3 separate regions of the Homo sapiens genome follow, and regions 2 and 3 are each linked to region 1. Evidence: promoter capture Hi-C in 16 types of primary human blood cells and fetal thymus (Javierre and others, 2016). All regions are on one chromosome and are shown on one strand. Each heading gives the region's core, a stretch centred on a gene start or on the middle of the fragment in contact. The rest is flanking DNA. Distances are from core to core; before and after follow the strand shown.

Region 1 (4,991 bases), core at 1,320-3,819:
TGAGTCACTGCGCCCAGCCAATTTACACTTCTAAACTCCATAATATATTAGCCATTCTTTTGGGTCACTTACTACTTTTTATTTGGTAATGTATTTTTCTAGCGGTTGGCTTCCTTCTTCAAACTTTTTGCTTTAAAGCAAGCAGAGTCTTTGTGTTTAATTCAGCACCTGCACAGCGCCCGGCATGAAGAACATACTCATTTGATGCTTGCTGAATTCATCACACAGGTGATGCATTACTTTGTAGAAAGAACAGATTATGTGTGGAGTTGGGATTAAATTTCCAACCATTGCTGACAGACACATACTTCATATGTGAGATGGATTCTCATATCTATCTCAGCAATTGTTTCAAGAATATAATGAAGATTCTGGAATAGGCACATAGTAGATGCTCAGCAACATTCCCTTTTCTTCTGTTCATGGCTCCATTCCCTCCATTTATGGAAGAGTTGTATCTGCTTGCTCTCTTCCTAGCTGGCCATTCTCAGAGGATAAGAAAGAATATCTAATATGCCTCCTGTGTCTCCTACGCAGGGGAAGCTGATTTGGTTTCAGTTTAGCACTGGACCTATGGGCACAGAGAATGAATGGGTGTAATGGCTCCACTTTTCAAAGACTGGCCTCACTCATCCCGCAGTCTTTAGTCAGACCCCTAAGTCTAAATAAATATAAGGTCTTTCCCTCCATGTATTGCAGCAGTTCTGTGTTTTCTAGACCTCCCCAGCCTTTCAGAACTTCCTCAATTTTATTTAAAGAAAAATGGGAGGGGGCCACGGAGAGGCTTAGCATCTAACAAATCCCACTTTGTATTAATCATTTTAAAACTTAATGATAAAACTGATAAGTTTAAAATTCAGGTTTGGGAGTTTAAATACCAGCTCTGCCACTTACCATCTATTAGAGCTTCAGTGTTACTTAACTGCTTAGTTTCCTCATCTGTAAAATGAGGATGAAAATACCTAACTCACAAGTTTTTAAATACATATATATATATATATCTCAAATGAATGCAAACCACATCGCCCAATTCTTGGCACATAGTATGCACTCAGTTATATTAACTACGATCATTGAACATCTTCTCTTTACCTTTCAAGTATGTTAATATTGACTACGTCATCCTTTAGGATTCTTTTACACACACAGTACAGCCTCCCAGACTCTGCTGTTTGAAATCTCTGGTCTGGCCTGTTAGAATTTTTCTGTTTTCCTAATAGAAACTAGAATGGGTTAGCCTACATTCGCCAATGCCCAAGTTACTTCATACAGAAACAACTGAACGTTGCAGGAAACAGATATTCCAACTTAATTGCTCAATTTCTTTCCTCTTCTTTTTGCTATAAGCCAACATAGTGCTTTTATAATGCAAACTCACATACACAGCAACAAGAAGTAAAACAAGGGTCACTGAGTTGATCCCATCACCTGACTTCAGCAGGGGAGAAAAGGATACATCATGATCTCTAATTTTCACAAGTGGCTTGCCATCTTCTTTCCCTTCCACCTCCCCCGTCTATCAATCATGAACATAGTGTGCATGTGTGTGCTTACACCCCTTTCACCTTCGGGTTTAATTTTTTGGAGGGATCAGACTTGCATCACGCCCGCACTGGTGGGGGTAGGAAGCGCAGCTAGGCGGGCACGGCTGTTGCCGGCAGGGCCAAAGTCCCCTACCTCCTCCTCGGCGTGTTTGTTCCCTGGACCAAAGCCTCCTAACTACTTTTCTTCACTCCCTAGATCCACCACTCGCCTCCCACACAGGGTGGAGCGCCCCGAAGTACTTGCATAAGACAGCACAATCCCAATTTATAGGTTGTAGGAGCGCCAGTGCTGTCGGTTTTTTTCCCCAAGATATTTATGGGGGTCATTAATTATTTAACAAATCTAATAAAATTGAAGGGCTCCTTCTCCCAGAAAAAGATCGTACACACCAAAAATTCTGCATAGCATCTCAAGGTGTTTATAGACTCCCTGAACCTTCAAATTAAGTCCGCACCAGTGAGGGGCGCGGACCGGCGGAGTAGAAAAAGAAAGGGGTGAAATCTTGAAGTGAGTTAGTTAACATTGATAGATATGTACAATATTTAATATACATAGGTACCTATATGACAAAGCTGAGTAATAGGTTATGGAAAAGAGTGCTTTCCACAAGCAAGTCGGTCATACCGAAGACGGCGAGCAACAGGTGGGCAGAACACGGGGTCCCGCACTCCCAGCACGCGGGGTGAGGGCGGGATAGGAGGAGGTGACCGGGTGTGGGGCAGGGGGCGGCGCCGGGGAGCGGCGGGCTCCACTCACCGTTGCCCACGGAGCTGCGGCCCTTCCGGGCGAGGGTCTGCTGCACCTGCTCCTGGATCCGCAGGCTCTTGACTGTCTGGCCGCCGCGGCCGCTGCTCCCCGCCAGCTTCAGCTTGGCCTCGGAGGGCAGCGCCAGGCTGGAGCTGTCCAGTTGTCCCAGGATCTGCTGGCCCAGGACGGTCCGGATGTAGCCGTACTCAGCTGGGGCGCCGGGGGCTGCCATGGGGCCGGTGGGGGCGACCGAGCTGCTCGCCTGCCTCTGGACTCGCGGGCGAAGCCGCCACGGAGCTGGGGGCGCTGGCGCGAGCCCCGCCCCGCTCGAGTCCGGCCCCGCCCCTGGCCCGCCCCCCGCGCCGGTGAGAGGCCCGGGCCGGGGGGGAGCTCGGCCTCGTGGGCCGGACGCCCGGCCTTCCCTGAGGAGGGGGCGCGGCTCCGGCCGGGCACGCGCAGTCGGGCCCGGGGGCGGGGGCGGGGGCGGGCCGGACCCGCTGAGCGCGCGGACACCTGGAGACTTGTACCCGCCCGCGGGGAGGTGGGGAGAGGGGCGCGGTTCGCCTGGGGTCGCGCACGTTGTCGGAGTCCCAGCGGATACCGCCTGCCGGGGCCGCGCCCCGCTCTGCCCACGCCCCGCGCTGGACAGGATGGATTTCCGCTCGATGCAGGGAGGGGCTGCCCTGCAGGCAGGTGAGCCCTCGAGAGTCACTCCTGTTCTTGGACTGAGGCTTGCCTCCGGGATCCCCGAGCGAGTAGTATGTCTGGTTAGTCAGGCTTTGTCGCACTGTTGGAAACGTTTCCTGGTTTTCCTGGACCTGAGGGTGAGAAAGGGCTATTTGGTCAGGCGGAAAGGGCAATATGAGGGAAATGTGCCAAGAAGATAACGTGTGAAATAAAAGACTTTCTAAAGAGAGTGTTTTTTTTCTTAGTACAACGTCAGGACTATGTACTTTTTGCACAGATGCAGTCCCAGAAACATATGTTCTTCCTCATTGAGAGCTTCTGTTTTCTCTTGGATACACAAATTGTACCCAGTACTCTTGCTAACCCATTCCTCTCTTACGAACACACCCACACAGAGAAACTCCAACAAGAGGCTCTAGAGAAGAAATGAATTTTAATAGACGATGCTTTTTAAATAGCCCTGCTAACGTTGATTAAGTCCTCTTTATTACAGGCTCTTTGTAGAGAGATCCACGGAGAGGGCCTCCAACTTTCAATCGAATCTTCCACAACTTGTATTTATCGTGCTATTAATTATGTTTCACCGCAGTTGACTACTGAGAACTTGAGAGCTAAGCTCAACAGAAAGGATCCTTGACCTTAAAGTTTACAACCAAAGCCACTTGTCCTGATTTGCCTCTTTGGACTTAAGAGGCAGAAAGAAAAACATGTATCCCTGGTATTAAGATAATATTCCCTTTGATTGCTTGGGTTTGTATGTTCACTTTCCCTCAAATCACTCAATTGCTGCAAAACCCCACTTACTCAAGTCTGAAGTGTTTGGAGAACGCAGCTTCCCTCGTCTTTGTTTTCCTACCCACACCCTTCTGCCTTTAGACACACACTGAATGCTTAGACACACAATGCACAGGTATATGGCCTCCCTTTTTACATGAGCGTCCAGGGAGTGAAGAGGAAACCAAAGGACTGAAAGCGTGGACAACAGAGTAGTGACAGTTCCGCCACCCTTTGTCAGCAGGCCACATGGCTAAGTGGGAGCCATATGGATGTGAGTCCTGGAAGCAATTGCTCCCACCCCAATAGAATGGACCACTATTTAGGCAAATTACACCTTGTGTAAAGCTTGCTTATGTAGCCAGGTGGAAACATCCAACCATGATGCTGAGATGTAATTGAAAAGAGAGGGGTGAACTGAAGGTAAGTGATGATAGAAACGTCCAGCAACATTCCTGTTTCTCTCTCTCTCTCTCTCTCTCTCTTTTCATGGCCTCTTCTGGCAGACCAGAATCTGCTGCTTTGAGAGACAATTTCAGTATCTGTCCATACAGGGTCAGTTGGGGCATTCCTTGTTATTTTGTACCTGAAGAGCCATGACTTAAAATGTCAGCTCTGCCTCCAATTAGATTCCTCACCAGGAGACTAGAGAGGAATTTTTCTCATTTATTTTAATGAGCCAAACCTCAGATACTTTTTTCCTCTCAAATTAATTTTTTTAAAGTGTGTTGTTGGAATTGATTATCCTGTTGGGTAGGTACCAATAATTGGGCACATAGAAATCTTGTTGTTGGATTGTTAGGTGATTTGAGGGGAGGGAAGGTGATTAAAAGCACAGCTTGTGAGTGAGGAAAATCTAGGTTTTAACCTTAGCTTACCCCTTGTAAGTATATGGCCACAAGCAAGTTTTTTTAGATTTTTATAACTCTGTACATTCTCTTATCTATAAATGGGAGCAATAAAAGTATCTACTACATAGTTGTATTAGTCTGTTTGTACGCTGCTGTGAAGAACTACATGAGACTGGGTAATTTATAAAGAGGTTTAATTGACTCACAGTTCCTCAAGGCTGGGGAGGCCTCAGGAAACTTAGAATCATGGCAAGAAGGCACCTTCTCACAGGGTGGCAGGAGAGAGAATGAAAGCTGAGCAAAGGGGCAGAAGTCCCTTATAAAACCATCCACCCCATGAGTCAATTACCTCCCACTGGGTCCCTCCCATGACACAAGGGGATTACG
Region 2 (4,991 bases), core at 1,650-4,149, 690 kb after region 1:
TGCAACAAATGCATGTGCACATACATAAGAAAAGAAAACATGAGTTGAATAACAACACAAAATTAAAAGATTATTAGAATTAATACAATATTGTTCCAGGTTAATTGCCAAATGAGGAATATAGGTATTAGACCCATAGATCAGGCATCTGACTATTTCTATGAATCAAGGCCAGGGTCTCTGAAAGTTAACAAGGTCTGCCCAAGTTCTCAGTAAGATTTACTAATGGATTGACTGAGATTGACTAATGTGTGAACTATGGGAAAGGCATACAACTTGGCCACTTTTATGCTCCTTTGTGGAGTAACATGATCTGCCCTAGGAAAAGGAGTGCTTTGGTGAGAGGATTCAAAATCCAGAATTAGTCATGATTAAATCACATTGTCGATTTTTTTTCTATATATGGTTTTTGAGTAATTTTAAAAGATCTGTCATTGTTGTCCTTGGTGATTACACATTCAGCAAATATTCTTTGAGTACCTATTATATATTGGTCAGCATGCCTAGTTTACAGGTATAATAGTGAACAAGATGGACATAATACTTGCTTTTATTAAGTATAAAGCCTGGGAAAAATTAGACATTAAGTGGTAACACTGAATCTAAATAATTTTTATAAATATGTAAAATTCCAATTCAGTAATTCAGCAAATATTTACTAAGCACCTGCTCTGAGTCTGTGGTTATGTTACCGGCTGCAGGGCCTATGTGACTTAGCTGGACCCCTACCCCGCTTTTGTTGCCCAAGGCAATGTCTACATGACATAGCTGAATTCCTATTACCGGCTGCAGGGCCTATGTGACTTAGCTGGACCCCTACCCCGCTTTTGTTGCCCAAGGCAATGTCTACATGACATAGCTGAATTCCTATTACCGGCTGCAGGGCCTATGTGACTTAGCTGGACCCCTACCCTGCTTTTGTTGCCCAAGGCAATGTCTACATGACACAGCTGAATTCCTACTCAGCCTTAACTTTGTTAGGAAACAGCATGTCTGTGATCAAAAGTTTATTCTTAGAACTAAACCAGTTGAAACTTGCGAAATCCATGTTGGCAGTTTGCTTGACCTCTGATGAATCTCTAGCTTCATTGTAATCCAATTTTCATGACAAATGACTCACCCCTGGATGCCTTGACAGTTGATAATCACCATGACAATGACCAGAAGAAATGAAAAAATGACAGAAAAGAGGCGACTCCTAGGAAATCTCCATTCCTTACCAAGAAAAGCATAAATATTCCCCTGCTTGCTTTTAATGCCCAGCCCCTTCACTGAAGATACCCTATATCTGTAACTCCCTGGTTCTCTCTCAGGAGGTGATAAGTTGATTTGAGAGCCACACTCCCACTTCTGCATTTTATGGCCATCAGATAAAGCCTGTACTGTCTAATGCTCACTTTCAGTTTCGTATACTTGCTTGTGACACTGAACAGGAAAAGGCCCATTTTGGGGGGTAACTGGGACCCCCTGGTAACAGTTAGAGTACATCAGAAATTTACCAAAAAAAAAAAAAAGACAAAGATCATTCTCTTCATGAAGCTTATATTTCTATTATGGGAAGGAAGTTAGAAAATTAAAAAAAGAAGTACTATCTGCTGGAAGCTGGGAATGCTATAGTGCAGCAGGTGTGTGTGTGTGGCACTAAAGTAGGGTGAAAGGAATGGACAATGAGCAGGAGTGGTGGACTGGTGGGGGTGGACCACTCTCTTAAATAGGGGCATGGTACAGCTTATTGAGAAAGTGACATTTGAGAAACAGGTGAGGAGTTAGCTATGTGGATATATAGCGGAAGAATAATCAAGCAGAGCGAACAAACGGTGCAGAAGCCATATGGTGGAAATTTGCTTAAGTATTTGAGAACAGCATTGTGGCTGGAGTAGAATAAACGAGGGGAAATTGGTTAGAGATAATGTCAAGAGAGGAGTAGTTCAGGCAGATGATGTAGATCCTAGTAGGCCATTGTGTGAAGAGGCATTGGAGAGTTTTGAGTAAAACAGAGACAAGATTTGAGTGTTGTAATCTGACATACATGGTGAAAGGACCAATCTGTCTGCTAAGCTCTGGCTTCACTTAGTGGGGTTGGGCTTATAAAAACAAGTTCTATTAGGAAACTATTGAAATCATTCATATAAGAAATGACAGTGGGTTGGAGCAGAGCAGTAATAGTGGAAACAATGGAAAACAATTAGACTCTGAATATATTTTAAATAGAAAACAAACAGGATTTTCTAACAGATTGGATATAGAGCATAAGAAAAAGAAGACTCAATTTTGTTTTGTCCTGAATAAATGGAAAGATGAAGTGACCATCAATAGTGATGGAAAAGGCTGTATGAGACACCTCAGGGGACAGAGGCATGGGCATCAGAGGCTCAGTTTGGATTTTTCTGAGTTTGAGATGTATTTAGACACCCAAGTAGAGATTCCAGTAGGCAGTTAAATAAAAAAATCTCTATTGTTGGGGAGCATTTTCGACTGGAGATTCACAATAGATGGCACTTAAACCCATGAGCCTGAAGGAGGCCACACAGAGAGTGAGCATAAAGAAGAGAAGAAAAGCAAAGACAGAGCTCTGGCCTACTCCAACCTCATAAAGTCAGGGAGAGGAGGATGAAACACCAAAGGAAATGGGTAAGGAACAATGTGTGAAGCAGCAGGAGAGCCAAGTGAGTGATAACTAATGACACCGTACTATAAAATGAACCTGCAGATAAGGTAGCCCTTTACATGGAACACATTTGGAAGTGTGAAAATTTCTGTAGTTCCTCTTTTTCATATGCCACCTCACGCCAGCCATGTTCATTTTTGCCTTCATTAATGGGTCCTCCTTGCAAAGGATCCACACAGAGAACCCCTGCTTCCTCTCCACCACAGAATAATGGCAGGAAGCAGACCTAGCTACATGGGGCTTCATTCTTTTCCATCAGCTTCCTAGAAGCCTGTGGATTAATGTTAGAATCTGCTACTCCTTCGACCATAGAGCACTAAACTTTGCAAAGGCTTTGATTAATTTGAATTTGATGGCCTTAGGGTGCTTTTATATTAAAGCTCTGAAAATGTTCAGAAATTTTGAAACAACCATGATCACATTTACAATTTATTTTTGACACTTTTAAGGTTTTTCAATTTGATTTTTTTTCCTCAGAAGACAGGGCAAACTTTGTAATGATGATTAACAAGAACTCTGTGACACTTACATGGACCTGGAAAAGGGCAGAACACGCCCCTTTCCCCAAAGCACAGAAACAATCAGAACAGGTGAAAGCTGAAGAGTTCATGGGTTTGTAACCAAGTGGACCTATTCTTCTTCATTTATTGAAAAGGGCAGGACAAACACATAGGCATGTGCATTGGAGTAAAGAATGAAGTGGAGTGTGGCCAAGATAGCCAGGTGTTTCTGCCCTGCAATGTTTTCCTGCTTTTCATTTTCCTTGCTCTCTTTGAAAGATCTTATTAAATACAATGATCTCATTCTTTCAAAGGGAGTGGGGCCTTTCCCATCCACTTTTTTCTAAGAGGAACCTGAGTTGTAAATGAAATAAAATCATGTGATCTTGCTGTCATAAATATTCATCTTGGGTAAGTGACTATTTTTAATAATCAAATTCTTTGTTATCCAGAGAAGTTGAGGGTGACTGTACTTTTCCTAACCCACCTGTAAAACTACCTAAGGAATATATATAAATATCTGTATATATCTCTCTCTATATATACTTACTCCTGACTGTAATCATTCTTATTTATTACTATTTAATTTATATGGAACTCTCATAAGCTATCTCATAAACTCACAAATCATCATTCAATAAATCTGACAAATATCAAGTCATGTACTACACACAACTGACAAATGATTAGTATCAAAATATATTTTTTAAATGTGCAGATCTATAAGGACTACAAAGGAAGCATAAGTATTTACTACCTTGCTTTTCTAGCTAAGTCAGGGATAATAGCTAGCTAGTGCTTTCCACACTCAGAAGCAATTGTGTCAATAATAATTTTCATCCCATTCTCTGGCCTCTGTTGTCAATTATAATTTAAATCAAGGCAGAACTAAAGATATTTGCAGTTATTTCCATAAGCATATCTTACATGCTTTTGGCTAGTACAGTTAGGTGGATTTCTGGAGAAATACTAGGTTTATAGCCGAAAAACCATGAGGCAAATCTTAGACATGTTACGTTTGATTTATTGTTGTAATATTCAGTTAGGAAGGTGAAGTCAGTAGTTAAGTAAATTGATCTGGAGCTTATAGAAGAAGCTTGGCTAGGTGAGAAAGATATATTTGAGGGTGATCTTTCTAAGGGTGGGAACTGAATCCATTAAATTAAATTAAATCATCTTAGAAAGAGTAATGAATGAGAAAAGAAAAGGACTAAGGACCTAATCATGAGAAGCTAAAACATTTAAAGATCAGGGAAAAAGAAAATGAACATGCTAGAGACTCAGAATAAGAGGTCAGGGTGCTGGGGGAAGAACTGGGTGTTTTATGTTTTTGAAGCCGAAAGGTATGCTTCTTAAAAATCCAGTAAGATTAAGACTACAGGCACTGAATCAATTCAACTTTTTATTGAGCACCTACTATGTGTCAATCACTTATCTAGGTGATAAGATAAAATGATGATCCCAAACTGACACTGTTTCTCTCAAGAAGCTTTTAACATAGTGGGGCAGTCAGCCCTATAAGCAAATTGTCATGCTAATAAATATGCCGTTATAAACTGAGGGACATGCTCTGAAATATATAAACATATAACACAAGAAGCTGCTTTAGACTGTAGGGACAGAGAAGAATTCCCTGCTGAATCAATTTTTGAGCTGAGGTTTAAGAATAAATAGAGGGCAAATAGGTGAAGGTGAAGGGTAAAGGAAGGAGCATTCCAGGTAGAAGAAACTGTACAGGTAAAGACCATTGTGCCAAGAAGCAATGTGAAGATATTTAAAGGGTTTAAAAGGCCAGAATGGCAGAAGGATAGAGAGCAAGGTGG
Region 3 (4,991 bases), core at 1,688-4,187, 640 kb after region 1:
AAAAGGATCAAAAGTTGTAGTTTTGGATGGAAATTCTTTGAGGGCAATAAGATGCCCTAATAGATTGCAGTTAGTCAATAAGTGATGAACAAACACATTTATAAATGGATTTTTAAACGCTAATTATTTTTACATTATAATGTCACTCAATAAACATTTATGGAATACTTACCAGGTACAATGCACTGGACTGTAAATTGTAGGATGAATAAATGCTTTATTCCAAGGAATTCACCGTCATAGATATTCCTGAATACTAGGATTAAAAGGGACCATGAAGACTTTCTAGTTCAGCCCCCTCATTTTGCATACATGAGAAACAAGAAATAGGGAAGTTATACATTTTGCAATGTTAAAAAGCTATTAAGTAGGGAAGCGTGGACTCTAAAATACAATGGGAAAGACAAGCATGCTTAGAAATAATTTAAGTACATGGCAGATGTGTGATGTGGGCTATGACAGAAACACAAATAATGGTTCCATGGTTATATGGGATTCATGTTGTATGATCAAAAGAGCTGCACCATGAAGGCCATTCCAGATTACCATTTACTATATGACCTAAAAGTCACTTAAAGATAGAGACTAAGATTTTTTATCTGTAAAAATTATAGAATAATAAAGATCTTGCAATATTGTGTGAGTTTTAGAAACAAAATGAGCACTTAATAATAGTAGTTACTATTTTGTGATGAGGGTATAGCATTCCACAAATTTAAACAAGTAACAAATCAGATTTTATTATAAGCCAAATGTATGTGTCTATATTTACATATAGACACAGACATACACTCGGTATTAATTCATTTTAAACTTAAAAAGTTATATTTGTGTATGGTGTCTTACTGCAAACCTAATAACAGTTGAAATATTCCTACTAACCAAGGGTTAGAAGGCAGCCTACCCATGACAGAGGAAAGCCTGGACCAGAGATTGAAAACTAGACTTCAGCTTGGTAAGAAATGTATTTGATAGAATGAGGGGAGATTAAAATTGAAGGGCAAGTGGTTTATCTCCCCTTCATAAACAGAAGTATGTCTAGCTTGGTACAGTCCTAGGACAAAAGTAAAAAAACAGAAGTTCAATAGAAATGTGATGAAAATAAGTCAGCTAAATGAGGAATGAAGTTGAAATCATGCCTCAGCGTTACATAACTTCAGTGGTATAGTTCACAGTCAGAAAGCACAGCTTCCTAAAATTGGCAAAGTTATCTATCTTAAAGCTTTATGCAAACTGTATTACAAAGCACAGTTTCATTGTCCAAGGAATAAGTGGCAATTCATTCTTTTATAGAACAACACCATCTTTTCTTCCTCCTACAATTTTTTAATTCATATGGTTTGTAGGACATTAATTAAAACTATGCAGCTTTTAATCAAAGTGGAGGGGGGAATATGTAGATTCTTGCTGACTTTTGGCTTTGTAAACAAGAAATAAGCAGTTCTAAGATAATTGTTAATTTTTCACAATTCTTTTTCTATCTGAATGATAAATTATTCTCAAGAAATAGCAGTTCTAGAAAGGATGTCTAGCAGATTAAAAACAGCAAATAATGGCCAGGCGCCGTGGCTCATGCCTGTAATCCCAGCACTTTGGGAGGCCGAGGTGGGTGGATTGCCTGAAGTCAGGAGTTCAAGACCAGTCTAGCCAACATGATGAAACCTGTCTCTACTAAAAATACAAAAAAATTAGCTGGGTGTAGTGGCGCGCACCTGTAATCCCAGCTACTTGGGAGGCTGAGGCAGGGGAGTTGCTTGAACCAAGGAGGTGGAGGTTGCAATGAGCCGAGATCACACCAGTGTACTCCGGCCTGGGTGACAAGCAAGACTCCATCTCAAAAAAAAAAAAAAAAAAAAAAGCAAATAATGATACATATGAAGTAAAATTATTAGCAGTTGGTGATGCATTGCATATAGTGTGTGAGAAGTTTCAAAGACAACCTCCAATTTTTTGATAAGTGACAGAGTCCTTCACTACTGCAGGAAACACTGGAGAAGTGAGTTTGGCTTTTGTCTTGGTCAGATGCTTTTGGGACATCCACATGAACCTGCCAATTACATGGCGGGATACAGGATTCAAACTCAGTGGAATGGGGAGGGGGAGAGCATGGATTAAATATGGACAATGAAAGGTAGCTGCAAATTATTTGATATTCATACTTTGGAGAGGCTGTGTTCCCTCCCTTTAAATCTGGGTAGGGTCTCTGACTGCTTTGACAAATAGAATATGCTGGAACTAATTCTGTGGCTGTTTCCAGGACTAGAACGAAGGAAACTGGTAGTTTCCTATTTCTGTCTTCTGAAATATTTTCTTAGGGGAATGCAGCTGCTACATGAGAAGACTGACTATCCTGAGACTGCCATGCTATGAAGAAGCCTAAGCTCCTTATGTGGAGAAGCTACGAGCAGAGGCCCACCTTGCCTCCGCTGTTCCAGCCACTCCTGCCCGAATGCCCAACATGTGAGTCAAGAAGTCCTCTTGGCCATTCCTCATTATGTAGTGATAGGAAACACAGCAAAACTGTCACCCAAGGCAATACAGAAAACCGGAGCTTCACGTACTGAACTGATGGATCTATTTTAGGGAGCTTCCAGACAGAATGTCAAAAGTGCCAGCAGGCTTCTTTTAGTTGCTAATAATAAGGTACAGATAGAGAGATATCATATAAAGAAGCTATTATTCAATCGTCATGAAGAATTTAAAGATAATATAAAGGAGCCAGGATTTGCTGAGATAGATAATGAAACTTTCGGCCAGGTGCGGTGGTTTACGCCTGCAATCCCAGCACTTTGGAAGGCCAAGGCAGGTGGATCACGAGGTCAGGAGTTCGAGACCAGCCTGACCAACATGGGGAAACCCCATCTCTACTAAAACCACAAAAATTAGTTGAGCATGGTGGCGTGTGCCTGTAATCCCAGTTACTCAGGAGGCTAAGGCAGGACAATCGAGGTGGAGTTTGCAGTGAGCCAAAATCATGCCACTGCACTCCAGCCTGGGTGACAGAGCAAGACTCTGTCTCAAAAAAAAAAAAAAAAAAAAAGACAGAAAATGAAACTCTTTTTTATTCTCAGTCTCTTTTTAGCAGTATATTCTAGAAGCAAGATAGTGCATCAGGGCAAAGATCAAGTGTGCTATCAGGAAAACACAGTTTCCAGATAAAGATGAAGCCAAAAGTATAATGAATGTGACTGTAAAACTCTTTGTTGAGAACTCAGAAAGATTTAAGGGCATGCTTTGCAGATACTCTTCATCAGGCAGCATGGTTTCTGACAATCTTCATGGGCCATTTGAAGGTTCTCTTCTCAGCACTAAATTTACTACACATATAATTTTTTAATGAATGAGCTGAAAGACCATAAATTATTTTATAAAGAAGTGCTTGGTGAGCATCCTCTAACAAAAGAAAAGTGAATCATTGTTTGTTTTATATGCTACAAAAAGTCAAAGAAAGAAGTGGGGAATACTTAGTCCTAAAAAACATCCCTGTGGGCAATATCAAGCAGAAATAATAAGAATAGCAAATATTCCTAGAAAACTGTTAGTCCTGTAAGGGTTAAAAATCAGTGTTTGGAAATAGGCAAAATTTTCTTCATGTACAGGTGTGAGAATAGCAAATATAACTGACCTAAATGAGCTAAAGAACCTTAGTTTTGGTGTCTACATCACAGCTAATTAAGAGTTCTAGCCTCCAGCGGTCAAATCAAGTTTGCCATGGGTGAGCTTTTAGTCAGAATCAATTGCATGTGTTTAAGAAGAACATGGAAATGATTGAAATTAATATCATTTATTAAATTGAGGATGAAATTCTTATTACCTTGTATGGTATAAGTGAACCATCATTCATTTTATGAAAAATGTGAACAACTTTACTTCCTCATTGCCATATTTCTGAGAAAAATATTTGAAGATTCAGAATCATTAAGCAAGAATTCCCTAGTATACTCACTTGATACTATCATGTTAAACCATATCTGTTTCTCATTCTTTTGTCAGAGGTAGGTTCTCTACAGGTGATGGCTAATGCCCATCTTTAATTCTATCAAATATCCAAGGGCTGAAATTGGTCTGATGTTGAGGTATGCAGACAGGGGGAGGGAAGAGATGTGCATATGGCCTGATACAGATAAACGGTATTTTCCCCCCTGTATGTGCTGAGCCAAGCTGTCCTTACTTGTTAACTTCAGGTATTTTTAGAATAAATATTCTTCATCCTTGGTATAAACAATTGCTTGCTAGTGTCTCTTTTCCTTCGGGAGATGAAGTTATAATGGGAATCTGAGTATATTGGTTGATGCAAAAACAAACAAGGAAACAACAACCCCGCCCCCCGCAAGAAAAGGAAAAAAAAAAAGAAAAAAAGCTAAGCATAAAAATGCTAACAGTAAATGTAAACCGTAATATTGTTTTTTTTTTTATTTTGAAGTGTAACACATTGTAAACCCATGCAAGGAAGTTCAGAGTTCACTATATATTTTGGATGAAAGAACTTATTTTAATGCACATATCCATAATGTGATAATTTTAATGACAGAGCCTGAGAGATCCAAACCCCATCACAGTCTCTTTTCCTTCCTTCTTTTTCTAATCTGATTTCCTTTTTTTAAAAAAATTCAGCAACATCAACTTTAATGTGGTCATTGATTTCCCATGGGCTAAGCTTTCAGAGAAATATACCAGGGTATGTTCACAGCTGATCACAAAGAACCTTCTCTCAAATGAAATTTGTAAAGTGAAAGCAACAGTGTTACTCTTTCCAGAGGTTACTTACCTCTTCTATTCCCAGGACTAAGAGAAAATCATCAGCTGCTAAAATAAAAAGAGTAAGTGCTATTATTTATTTATTTATTTGTTTATTTATTTATTTATTTTGGCAAGCAGGGCTTTATGCAGGAGAACTTAGAATAAGTCAGCACAAACATAAAAGTCTTTTTTTCAACTGATTAATTCCTAGGTACTGTAACATAATTGAATCTGGGGCTCATGGAGTTCAG

The links. Contacts are between HindIII fragments. The CHiCAGO score rates a contact against its expected background, and 5 or more counts as called.
Region 2: a fragment that was not itself captured here is called in contact with the fragment with the promoter of PKP2 in region 1 in 1 of 17 cell types (M2 macrophages); the score reaches 5.1 in M2 macrophages.
Region 3: a contact is called between a fragment that was not itself captured here and the fragment with the promoter of PKP2 in region 1, in 1 of 17 cell types (M2 macrophages). The highest score is 5.5, in M2 macrophages.

The regions. Positions count from the first base shown.
Region 1 is chr12:32,894,208-32,899,198 of GRCh38, forward strand. PKP2 (plakophilin 2) reads right to left here and starts at 2,570. Exons shown (of 13, transcript NM_001005242.3): 1 at 2,302-2,570. The coding sequence starts at 2,524. RefSeq lists silencers at 2,569-2,678, 2,879-2,978. The HindIII fragment of the contact is 4,432 bases long and covers 1-4,099 here.
Region 2 is chr12:33,587,183-33,592,173 of GRCh38, forward strand. No RefSeq gene overlaps it. Among named protein-coding and RNA genes, the nearest start is that of SYT10, 150 kb to the left of the region's middle. RefSeq lists an enhancer at 426-1,346 and a cis regulatory region at 692-1,560. The HindIII fragment of the contact is 2,725 bases long and covers 1,538-4,262 here.
Region 3 is chr12:33,528,891-33,533,881 of GRCh38, forward strand. No RefSeq gene overlaps it. Among named protein-coding and RNA genes, the nearest start is that of SYT10, 92 kb to the left of the region's middle. The HindIII fragment of the contact is 3,435 bases long and covers 1,221-4,655 here.